Linked DNA regions of Homo sapiens: region 2 is linked to region 1. The links are contacts of gene promoters, found by promoter capture Hi-C in human tissues and cell types (Jung and others, 2019). All regions are on one chromosome and are shown on one strand. The core of a region is centred on a gene start or on the middle of the fragment in contact, and the rest is flanking DNA. Distances in the headings are between cores, read along the strand shown.

What was found. Contacts are between HindIII fragments. The study calls those that stand out against the background at their distance.
Region 2: a contact is called between a fragment that was not itself captured here and the fragment with the promoter of EIF2D in region 1, in 1 of the 25 tissues and cell types used here (aorta).

Annotation. Positions count from the first base shown.
Region 1 is chr1:206,609,841-206,615,920 of GRCh38, reverse strand. It overlaps EIF2D (eukaryotic translation initiation factor 2D), which reads left to right and starts at 3,456. Exons shown (of 15, transcript NM_006893.3): 1 at 3,456-3,634; 2 at 4,547-4,737. The coding sequence starts at 3,579. RefSeq lists a silencer at 3,194-3,403 and an enhancer at 3,694-3,763. The HindIII fragment of the contact is 7,443 bases long and covers 1-5,368 here.
Region 2 is chr1:206,817,595-206,823,674 of GRCh38, reverse strand. All of the region lies in intron 2 of IL19 (interleukin 19), which reads right to left. Among named protein-coding and RNA genes, the nearest start is that of IL20, 45 kb to the left of the region's middle. The HindIII fragment of the contact is 5,457 bases long and covers 181-5,637 here.

The DNA of each region.
Region 1 (6,080 bases), core at 2,207-4,706:
TTCTGGGTAAAGCTACTATAAATGACTATGTGTAGGTTTTTGTGTGGATATACATTTTCAACTCATTTATATAAATTCCAAGGAGAGTGATTGCTGGATTATATGGTAAAAGCATGCTTAGTTTTGTGGTAGTTTTTGTTTTGTTTTGTTTTACATTTAGATCTTTATCTGGAATTTCTTTTTATGAAAATATGAGGTAAACTTTCCTCCTAAATGGATAGGCATTTGTCCTGACATCATTTATTGCATCCATTTTTTCCTAGTGGTTGGAAAGCATCATCCACAGACTAAATCATGCAAGGTAACTGTGTGAGCCTGGACAAGTTAGTTAACATCTCTGTACTCCAGGTTTCTCACCTGGCAAAGGGGTTAACAATAACTGCTTACAGCATTGGTATGAAGGTAACATGAGGCAATGGGCATGGACACATTTGAAAAAGTAAAAATCCCGTATCCCTGAATCATCTGTATATGGGTGAAGATAACATGACTCTTTCTGAGGCTGTGAACACACTTGCTCATCTGAAAAGCCATCCAGATCCATCAAAGAATTCTCAAACCATTGGTCACATTTGAAATGTAGATGCCAATGATCCATATTTTCAGGGGATTTGCGTGTGGGCTTCAGTAGAAGGGAAGAGAAGGCTAGTGAAGGAGTAACTAGTAGGTAGCCATGGATGAATTATCAGTTTGGGTACCCTGTGGTCCTATAGACTTCAAGAGGACATAAATACCACTTGTTAGACTGTGAGTTCCTTGAGGGCAGAGTGCTTGTGTCGAATTTGTCTTAAAAATCACAGAGCCTGATTAGAAAGCTTCCAGTTAAGTTTCAATGAATTAAACTAAATTTTCTCCATTAGGACTCACTGGGAAGAGAAGAAAAAGGAAGTCTAAGGAAAATGGAATCTCTCATCTGGCCTACCCTTGCTTCCAAATACTTGGTACTCTTGTAAAGAATCCAATTTACAGCCAGTTGCTATCAAGTATAATTAGTGAAAACGATCCTTTTTCTCAGTAAATGGCAGCTTTCTTGGTATAGTTGCCCTGTGCCTTGCTGCAACTTGGCAGCTCAGACCCACCAGTGGGGAACAGTCTGGGAGCCCTGTGGGGTGGCTCTGGAGCTGCTGATGGAAGGCACAGGAATCAGGGCTTGCTGAACTTAAGGTTCAGGCTGCTTTCCCTGCAATAGGGTCAGCCAGCAGGGAGCAGGCAGGTCTGTGATGCAAGCAGAGAAGGTGGGATTGTGCCCACTGGGGAAGGGGGCTCTTGCTCTACCAAAGAGGAGGCTGGATGCCATGGTGCAGAATCCTCTGGGGTCTTGGCTCCTACTTGTCAACCACTAATTAATTTTTAGGTTTACAATTGATGTTTTCTTATCCAAGGACATCTGGTATACAAAAGTTCCCCTAGCTTAAAATGTTTAGTATTCTCTGAATAGCTTTCCTCTGTTCCCTAAGAAAGAGGCTTCCTCAGCAGCTGTGCTGCAAAAGACCCCAAATGTATTGCACATCCGAAGAGTGGCTAAGTGGGAGGTGAAGGGTGGGTACAGGGGTCTGTTGTAGGCACTGTCCTCCTCTGGGCTCCTTTGACATTGGCCTGGTGGCTGGGATACTTCAGAATAAAGGCCTAGTGGGTCACAGGTTTAGGAGGAGTTGGGGCTGGTCCCTAGGCCACTATAGGTGGTGGGCAAACATTGTAGAAGGCCTAATGTTTAGAAAGCCAGTGTGGAATTCTCCTTTGTGCAACTGCGTCACTGAATCAATTGGGATTTTTTATTGGTGAATGGACACTTGGAAGTTTTAATATGCAAAACATAATTTACTTTTATTACTTAAATTGCTTAATGTAATTTTAATATGCAAGACTTAATTTACGAAGAGCCAGGATTCCGGGTGTTTAAATCCTTGTCTCCAGGGAACACAGCTGTCCCTTTGAGGAAAACCTAATTTCTCTTCCCTGCCTGTGTGACTTTGGGACAAATCTGGGACAACAGTGAATTCTCTATTACTGTTATTACCACCCAAGTAAACTAAAAATCCGGGATGAGAAAAATCTTACAGAAAATTCTAGCTGAGGCTTCTAGCTTATAGTACAATGAATAGACCTTAATCATAGAATGCCTTTAAGAAAAACATTTAGGCCCGACTTGGTGGTTCACACCTGTCCTGTAATCCCACCACTTTGGGAGGCCGAGGCGGACAGATCTCTTGACCTCAGGAGTTTGAGACCAGCCTGGGCAACAAGGTGAGATCCTGTCTCTACAAAAAATACAAAAATTAGCCTGGTGTGGTGGTGCCCGCCTGTAGTCCCAGCTACTCGGGAGGCTGAAGCGGATGGATCGCTTGAGCCCGGGAGGTGGAGGCTGCATTGAGCTGAGATTGCGCCACTGCACTCCAGCCTGGGTGACACAGCGAGACCCTGTCTCCAAGTAAACAAAATAAAATAAAATAAAGAAAAATATTCAAAAAGCCCTCGAGGTTTTTTTGTTTGTTTGTTTGATTTTTTTGATACGGAGTCTTACTCTGTTGTCCAAGGTGGGGTGCAGTGGCACAATCTCGGCTCACGGCAACCTCTGCCTCCTGGGCTCAAGCGATCCTACCGCCTTAGCCTCCCCAGGCATGCGCCACCACACCCGGCTGAATTTTTCTTTTTTCTTTTCTTTTTTTTTTTTTTTTGAGACGGACTTTCACTCTTGTTGCCCAGGCTGGAGTGCAATTGTGCAATCTCGGCTCACCACAACCTCTGCCTCCCGGGTTCAAGCAATTCTCCTGCCTCAGCCTCCCGAGTAGCTGGGATTACAGGCATGCTCCACCATGCCCGGCTAATTTTGTATTTTTAGTACAGACAGGGTTTCTCCATGTTGATCAGGCTGGTCTCGAACTCCCGACCTCAGGTGATCCGCCCACCTCGGCCTCCCAATTCTTTTTCTTTCTTTCTTTCTTTCTTTTTTTTTTTTTTTTTTTTTTTTTTTATTTTGTATTTTTTATGGAGATGGGGTTTCGCCATGTTGCCCAGGCTGGTCTCGAACTTCTGGGCTTAAGCGGTCCGCCCGCCTCGGCCTCCCAAAGTCTGGGATAACAGGCTTGGGCCACCGCGCCCGGCCGAAGCCTGAACTGTTTATCAGTTCAATTATTTTTGCGGAATTGAACCGAACCGAATGGAATGGGAGCTTGCAGAGAGCTTCTACTCAAAGCAGTTCCTAAGGTTGATGGGGTGGAAGGAAATAAACAGAACAGCTATTGGCGTGGCCGAGTCGCTACGGACGGGGAACCCGAGCCGCTCGCGCAGGCGCAGAGCCAGGCCCGCGAGGGGATGGGAAGGTGGGGGGGAGGGGCGTTCCCTGGGCCCTGCCCCTCCCTGCCCTGCTTTAGTTCCAGGTACCGCCACTGGGGGCGGCCGCGGCCTCCCCAGCGGCAACGGCCACGAAGCTGCGCGGCCCTGGTTTCCAGCCGGGCCCTTTTCGCGGCCGGGCCCCAGCATGGCTGCCCCCACGGCTGAGGGCCTGGCAGCTGCTGCGCCCTCGCTTTCTTGACATTCCCTGGCTTCTGTGCTCTCTTCCCCAGGCCACCCCAGCAGACATGTTTGCCAAGGCCTTTCGGGTCAAGTCCAACACGGCCATCAAGGGGTCGGACAGGTGAGGGAGGAAAGGGGCCTGCTCTGCCACGGAACAACCAGACACCTCTTGGGCCCCGCTGGCCCATAGCCCTCGCTATTCTTGGCCGACATCCTCGGGTGGAGGCCGAGGGGTATGCCAGGGAAGGGACCCCAGGAGGCAAGGGTGGGTTAGACACATTTTGAGGTGAGGATGGAGGGGGACCTGGCTCTCTTTTGGATAGTCTAGTGAGTTTAAAAGAAAACGTAGTTAAGTCAGAGTTTACTGACTGCAGACTATTTAAGGTGTTGTGGAGAATGCAGAAGTGAAGGAATACAGAATTCTTGCCCTCCAAAGAGCTTAATGCCCCTTGGGAGAGATCGGATGGGATACCAAGAATTAAAAGTATAAGAGAAAAAAATGACTAGTGATTAATTCTGGCAGGAGAGACAGCTGGAAACTGAGGTGGGAGGGAATAAGGCACATGTGGTAAGAAGAACTGTATCTGTTCAGACAGGGTCACAAATGGAGATTGTGTTTGGAATTTTGTAACCAGTGCTTTATAGTTGTCTATAGGTCTCATGGCATAGTTATTTAATCATAAACTGGCATATTTGCGAAGCATGTATGAGAAAGGAGTGGGCCCAAGGGCTAGGCATGAAGTCAGGAAGGCAGGGCTGTTTCCTGTGTCAGGCTAACTTGGATTGTTCACTGGGCCTGTTTTCCCACCCATAAAATGGGAAGGCATACCCCAGGAATGAGTGAAAATAGATGACAATGGATGAAAAAGAGTTTAGGATGTTTCAGAAGAGTGTGTGTGAGACTAGGACATCATAAACCAGGCAATCTTTCTTTGGCCCTTGTGATTTTATAGTGAGCACTTTTGAGTTCGTTCTTGATATTTATTAAAAGTCTGTCCAGGCAGCATTCACAGTGCTGGTGTGCTTTCCACAGGAGAAAGCTTCGAGCTGATGTGACAACTGCTTTCCCCACCCTTGGAACTGATCAAGTCTCTGAGTTAGTACCTGGAAAGGAGGAGCTCAACATTGTGAAGTTGTATGCTCACAAAGGGGATGCAGTGACTGTGTACGTGAGTGGTGGTAACCCCATCCTCTTTGAACTGGAGAAAAATCTGTATCCAACAGGTATGACAACAGGACGAAGATGGCCATTACCATTAGGTAGTTCTTGCCTAACATCTGCTTCTCTCTGTTTCTTCCATTGTCTCCCATAAAATAAGCAAGCACGAAATCTCCCAATACCATCCCCAAGGATCTTTATGGACCTGGTGTTCCTAGAATTGGGTCTTTCAATTCTAGGATGCAAAAGGTTTTCTCTTATGCAAAACCACTATAGGAGGGATTAAAAAAAGGGCTGACATAGTAAGTAAGGGTGGTTGCAAAGGGAAGTTCTGAGATGAAGGAACAGTGGCTGAGAAGTTTACAGTGGGTTGACTAGGAATAGAGCAGAGGTCTTGAAAAGGATGGAATTTCAGGGCATGTCTTCATGAGACAGAGTCTTGCTCTGTTGCCCAGGCTGGAGTGCAGTGGCGCAATCTCAGCTCACTGCAAGCTCCGCCTCCTGGGTTCACACCATTCTCTTGCCTCAGCCTCCCGAGTAGCAGGAACTACAGGCACCCGCCACCACACCTTGCTAATTTTTTGCATTTTTTAGTAGAGACGGGATTTCACCATGTTAGCCAGGATGATCTTGATCTCCTGACCTCATGATCCGCCCGCCTCGGCCTCCCAAAGTGCTGGAATTACAGACGTGAGCCACCGCGCCTGGCCAAAAATATATATATTTTTTAGAGACAAGGTCTTACTCTGTCACCCAGGCTGAAGTGCAGTGGTGTGATCGTAGCTAACTGTAACCTCAACCTCCTGTGCTTAAGGGATCCTCCCACCTCAGCCTCCTGTGTAGCTGGGACTACAGGCATATGCCACCATGTCTGGCTACGTTTAAAATTTTTGGTAGAGACAAGGTCTCACTATGTTGCTCGGGCTGGTCTTGAACTCTTGAGCTCAAGTGATTTTCCTGCCTCAGTCTCCCGAAGTGTTGGGATTACAGGCATGAGCAGGGTGCCCAGCCTAAAAAATGTTTCTTAAAACTATCTGTAGCAGGATTTTCCTAAAATACTGAAAAGATATACTGTGATAGGAATAAAGCTGGATTGATAAGCTACATATCCAGCTGTTTTCATGGTGTACTTTAACCATAGGTCTCACAGGGATTTTTTAGGCTATGAGTGGCTCTCTAGGATTCTTTGCCTTCTCTGTCACAAATCTCAGGGACTCAGTCTCCTTTTCTCTTTTCCATAGCTGCTGACACCTACTTTGTAACTTGGGGCTTTTCATCCTCCAGGGTTGTCTGCAATAGTGCAATGCAATATCCTTAGGCCACTCCTGCCCCTGATCTCACTTCCTTGCTGTACCTGAAGACAACCACAATGCTTTTTGACCTAGGGGTTTTTGCTGCTAATCACTAT
Region 2 (6,080 bases), core at 1,660-4,159, 210 kb before region 1:
AATTATAGAGAACACAAAAATAAAATAGATAATGGAATAAAAAACTAGAAGGAAAGAAAAATGGTCATCCACAGTTATTCTATCCAGGAATAATCTTGGTGTCTTGGTGTCTTTTTTTTTTTTTAGACGGAGTCTCGCTGTCACCAGGTTAGAGTGCAGTGGCATGATCTCGGCTCACTGCAATCTCCACCTCCCGGGTTCACACCTTTCTCCTGCCTCAGCAACCCGAGTAGCTGGGACTGCAGGCGCACGCCACCACGCCCAGCTAATTTTTTTTGTATTTTTAGTAGAGAAGGGGTTTCACCATGTTTGCCAGGATGGTCTCAATCTCCTGACCTCGTGATCCGCCCACCTCAGCCTCCCAAAGTGCTGGGATTACAGGAGTGAGCCACCACACCCAGCCATCTTGGTGTCTTTTCTAACTTGGATCACCTAGAAAAAAAATGTTTAGGCCAGGTGCGGTGGCATATGCCTCCCAGCACTTTGGGATGCCGAGGCTAGTGGATCACTTGAGGTCAGGGTTTTGAGACCAGCCTGGCCAACATGGAGAAACCCCGTCTCTACTACAAATACAAAAATTAGCCAGGCATGGTGGCACATGCCTTTAGTCCCAGCTACTCAGGAGGCTGAGACAGGAAAATCACTGGAACCTAGGAGGTGGAGGCTGCAGTGAGCCGAGATCACACCACTATACTCCAGCCCAGGCAACAGAGTGAGACTTCATTTCAAACAAAAAAAAAAGAAAGAAAAAGAAAGGATCCATGCAGTGAAATATAACCCTAGACCCTAACCCCCACAAGGCTGCAACCACCTGAGCCCACCCTGGTCACTTACACATTCATTCAGCTGGGACCCTACAACAAGCCAGGCCCTGCACTAGGTTTGGGGGACACCGAAGCGTTGGGGGACACCAAAGTGGACAGCATATTCCCGGCCCCACAGACCTCACAGTAGTAGGAGAGACAGGCCATTAAACAGATGTCATGATCACTCTTACCAGTCAAGACCTGGGCTCTGTGCTAAGCATTTTCAATATATTAATTTATTTAATCCTTACAACCTTGTGAGAAGGTACTATCTTTAGCCACATAACACAGATTGATAAAACTGAAGTTAAAAGAGTTTAAACACTTGGACAAGGTTGTCGAGCTTGTAAGTGAGGAGCTGAGATCCAGACCCATGGAGACTGACTCCGGAATGGAATGAGGGTTATGAGGATCAGGAAAGGCCTCTCTAAGGAAGTGAGGTTTAACCTGAGACATGGAAGAGGAGCACAAGTAGAACATCTCAACCCCATTCTTTCCTCCATATCACCCACCAGCCTCCAGCATTCTCCTCCAGGATTCTTGTGCCAACTTTGCCCATAGCTATGGCTCTTCGTGGGCCCTGCAGCTGCCATTCCCACTTATCTTGCTTCTTAGCCCTTCTACCCAGGGGTGTTTCCCTATCGCCCTTCTCCATTTCCCCCTTCATGCAAGCCTCTTACTCAGGACCCTGCCCCGCTCATTCTCTCGAGGGCATCTTGGAAATTCCCCTTTCCCCCTTGCCCAGAATAATTTCAGGCTTAGCCCAGAACCCCCAGTTTTCCCAGCACCAAATATTAATCACAGTTCAGGCTAAAACTGCCGTGCTCAAGTTCCTCCAGATTCCAGGCACGGTGGGGCACGGACATGACGAGAGAACTCTGGGACTTGTCAGCTTCTGACTACCCCAGAAAGGCAGGGCAAGAACAAGGCCTGTGGGAACTTGAAGAACCTGGACACCTCTTCCAAATTAAGGTGCAGACCAAACCCTTTCCCAAAGTGTGAGGAGTTTTCATTTCAGTGGGCGGCTTTCCTTCCAGCCTTCCCACAAAGGACATCCTGGGGGAAAGGGAGCTGTTGATCCCAGGGTGGCGGCATACCAGAGCACTCTGTCCCTGAACTCACTTCTCCCTTTTCTTAGCCCTGCTGTGCCTGGGGAAGCTTAGAAGCACCTGGCAGGTGGTGATCCCTGCATCCACCTGCTGCAGTGGAAGACAATAGGAGCGAAGCTAATGGTGCTAGAGCAGGGACTGAGCCTTTGCCAAGAGAAAAACACATGCAGACTCTGTTAGTCTTGAACACACTTTCTCTTCCAGAGGATTCCTCCCAGGGAACTCCCAGAGGAGGAGGAAGTGCCAACGTTGTCCAAGGTCCCTGTTAAAGAAAAACCCTAATGGGAGAGCAAAAAGAACCTTTGGCAAAGACAGCTCTACACCTGAAAGCCGCAAGCATCGTAACAATGATAATAGCAACAACAAATGCTTATATGGCGCCTACTATTTGTGAGACAGTGCTCCAAATGCTTTATGGACTTGAACTCATTTAATCTTATGTCCAGTAGAACCTGCTTCACTGTGGCTCTTTACAGGTGCCAGGTCCTGTTGCTAATCTGGTATTTCGATAGTATCATTTTAACTTCCAGAACCTGTCATCATCATATCACTCATTGATTCAACAGATTGAGCACCCACTGTATCTTACACACTATGCTATGGTCTGGGAATGCAAAATGACAACAATTTCATCCCCTGAAGAGCTGAGGATCTCATGGGAAAGACAGGCAAACAAAGAGGATAATCCATTACAGTGGTATAAGTGCTTTGAAAAGGGGAAATAAAGCATGCTGTGGAACACAGTAGAGAGACAGTAATGCAAACCAAGTTGTGTGGGGGCAGGGGATATCAGGGAAGGCTCCTAGGTAGAGGTGACACCTTGGCTGAGTCTTTGAGGATTCATGGAAAAGGACAGGCACACTGGATGGAGCCCTAGAGATGGTCAATGATGGCACATTGTGGGAAACACATGTTGGTCAATATGGGCAGTGTTTGAAAGCGGGGTGGGGAGGAGGCGGCAGGAAGCCATGAGAAAAGCTGACAAGACTCTCAGAGTTGTGCTAGAGGAACCTCATTGTGCCAGTCCACAGCTGTTCTTTAAGCTCAGCCAATGCCACAGTAAAGTAGAGGCCCACTGTTCTCACCCAGCCATGTCCACATTTCAAATTCATCAGCAAATAAATGATTGCTATTATTTGAAGCCGCTGTTGTGGGATGGTTTGCTTTTAGCAACAAATTATCAAACAACCACTTTAGAGGTGAGGGCAGCAAGGAGGGCTAAGTGGAAATGACAAGCATCAACACTGGTGCCAATATCTTGATCTTTCTGGCCCTTATGTTTGGTTAGAAGCAAACATTGTTTGGCTAACATCTGGAAGTCATTTATAACCAGCATATGATTCTAGATGGTGCTAGTAGGTCTTTAGGCTCCAAATATAGAACATATCCCTCAGAATCTGGAGATAAGAGTAGAAATGGGTTGGTATGCTGGTATCTTGAAGGTTACAGACTGGTAAACTGATGTCAACCTCAAGCGGGAGGGTTTCTGATAGCCGACCACAGGCCTTCATCCTTTCCCTTGTCTTAGCAATGATTTTTATCGATCACTCAGATGAAGTTTAGGGGGGCCATATTTATCAAAGTCAGTAAATACATGAAGCTTGGAAGGCGAGTGAGCATATGGAATGACAGGATGAGGATCCTAAAATATTTTGACAATCTGGAGCAATAAGCTTAATCCAACAAGACAAAATTTAGGAGGGATAAATATAAGACTCCATGGTTGAATATGAAAAGAATCCTTCACAAGTATAGAAGGAAAGGGGGATGGCCCAGTCACAGGAGATATGAGACCCACATAAGAACTTAGGCTTTGGGGTTAGATAGACATAGGTTTACATGTTAGGTATACCAGTTAGTAACTGCGACCCTTGGAAAATTATTCAAGCTTCTCTTAGTCTTTCCCTGCAAGAATTAGAGATAATTCATATAAAGGACCTGGCAGTTTCTGGCAAAAGTAAGTGCTCAATAAGCGGCCAGTGAAAGATCTAAGTTGCTTGTAATAGTGCTGAGTCTCTACATAGCCCAGGAAAAAGCTATCCAAAAGAACTTTCTCTAATGGCAGAAATGTTCTATAATCTGAACTCTCCAATATGTTGGCCTCTAGCCACAAATGGCTATTGAGTTCTTGGAATGTGCCTATTGCAACTAAGGACTGAGTTTTCCTTTTTTTTTTTTTAGACGGAGTCTTGCTCTGTCACCCAGGGTAGAGTTAGTGTCACATCTTGGCTCACTGCAACCTCCGCCTCCCAGGTTCAAGGGATTCTTCTGCCTCAGCCTCCCGAGTAGCTAGAACTACAGGCACACACCAACACACCCGGCTAATTTTTGTATTTTTAGTAGAGATGGGGTTTCACCATATTGGCCAGGCTGATCTGGAACTCCTGACCTCGTGATCTGCCCGCCTCAGCCTCCCAAAGTGCTGGGATTACAGGCGTGAGCTACTGTACCCAGCCCAGTTTTACATTTTAATTGTAATTAATTTAAATTTGGATGGCCACTTGTGGCTAGTAGGTTATTATATTGAACAGTGTGGGTTAAGATGATGTTAAGAAATGCTAAACTCTGAGACAGGAGGATTGCTTGAGCCCAGGAGTTTGAGGCCAGCCCAAGCAACACAGCAAGACCCATCCCTTAAAAGAAAAAATAAGCTGGGTGTGGTGGCTCACGCCTGTAATCCCAGCACTTTGGGAGGCCAAGGCAGGCAGATCACGAGGTCAGGAGTTCGAGACCAGCCTGGCCAACACAGTGAAACCCCATCTCTACTAAAAATACAAAAATTACCTGGGCGCTGTGGCAGGTGCCTGTAATCCCAGCTACTCAGGAGGCTGAGGCAGGAGAATCGCTTGAACCTGGGAGGCGGAGGTTGCAGTGAGCCAAGATCATGCCACTGCACTCCAGTCTGGGCGACAGAACTAGACTCTGCCTCAAAAAAAAAAAAAGAAAGAAAAAGAAAAAAGAAAGAAAGAAAGAAAGAAAATACAAACTCTAAACCTAAGTAAGATCTGGAGCAGAGAAACAATTTTCACTTTTCTTTATAAACTTCTAAATGGGCTGACTTTTTATTGTAACGAAAGTGTACAATTTGATAAGCTTTGGCATATCCAGACATCCATAAAACCATCACCTCAATTAAACTGTGAACATACTCAGTAGCCCCAGCAGTTTCTCCTGCTCTATTTTAATCCTTTTCTCCTACCCTCTCACCCACATCCCCACTCCAACCCTGCTCAGGCAAGCACTAATCTGCTTTCCGAAAGTATAGACTAATTTGGGTTTTCTAGTATATTATGTAAATAGAATCATACAGTATGTAGTCTTTTTTGTCTGGTTTCAACTGAACATAATTATCTTGAGATTTGTCCATGGTGTTGCATGTATGACCAATTAATTTCTTTCTAATGCTTAGTAGTAGCCATTATATGGCTATGCCGCAATTTGTTTGCCCATTCTCCTTCTGATGGACATTTGAGCTACTTCCAGTTTATCGGCCCAGAATATGGTCTGTCTTGGTAAAGATTCTGTTTGCACTCAAAAAGGATGAACATTCTAATATTGTTAGGTAGAGTGTTCTATATATGTTAATTAGGCCAACTTGGTTGACAGTGTTATTTAAGTCTACTATATCCTTGCTAACTCTGCCTCCTTATTCTATGGATTATTGAGAAATGGGTATTGAAATCTTCTACCATAATTGGCCGGGCGTGGTGGCTCACGCCTGCAATCCCAGCACTTTTGGAGGCTGAGGCAGGCAGATCACTTGAGGTCAGGAGTTTGAGACCAGCCTGGCCAACATGGTGAAACCCCATCTCTACTAAAAATACTACTATTAGCTGGTAGTGGTGGCACACGCCTGCAATCTTAGCTACTCAGGAGGCTGAGGCAGGAGAATCGCTTGAACCCAGAAGGCAGAGGTTGCAGTGAGACAAGATTGCACCATTGCACTCCAGCCTGGGCAAAAGAGAAAGACTTTGTCTCAAATTAAAAAAAAAAAAAAAGAAATCTTCTACCATAATTGTAAATTTTTCTATATCTCCTTGTAGTTCTGTGAAGTTTTATCTACTTTAAAGCTCTGTTATTAGGTGCATAAACACTTAAGACTGTTATGTCCTCTTGATAAATTTACCTCTTTATCATTATGAAATGACCTTCTTTATCCCTGGTA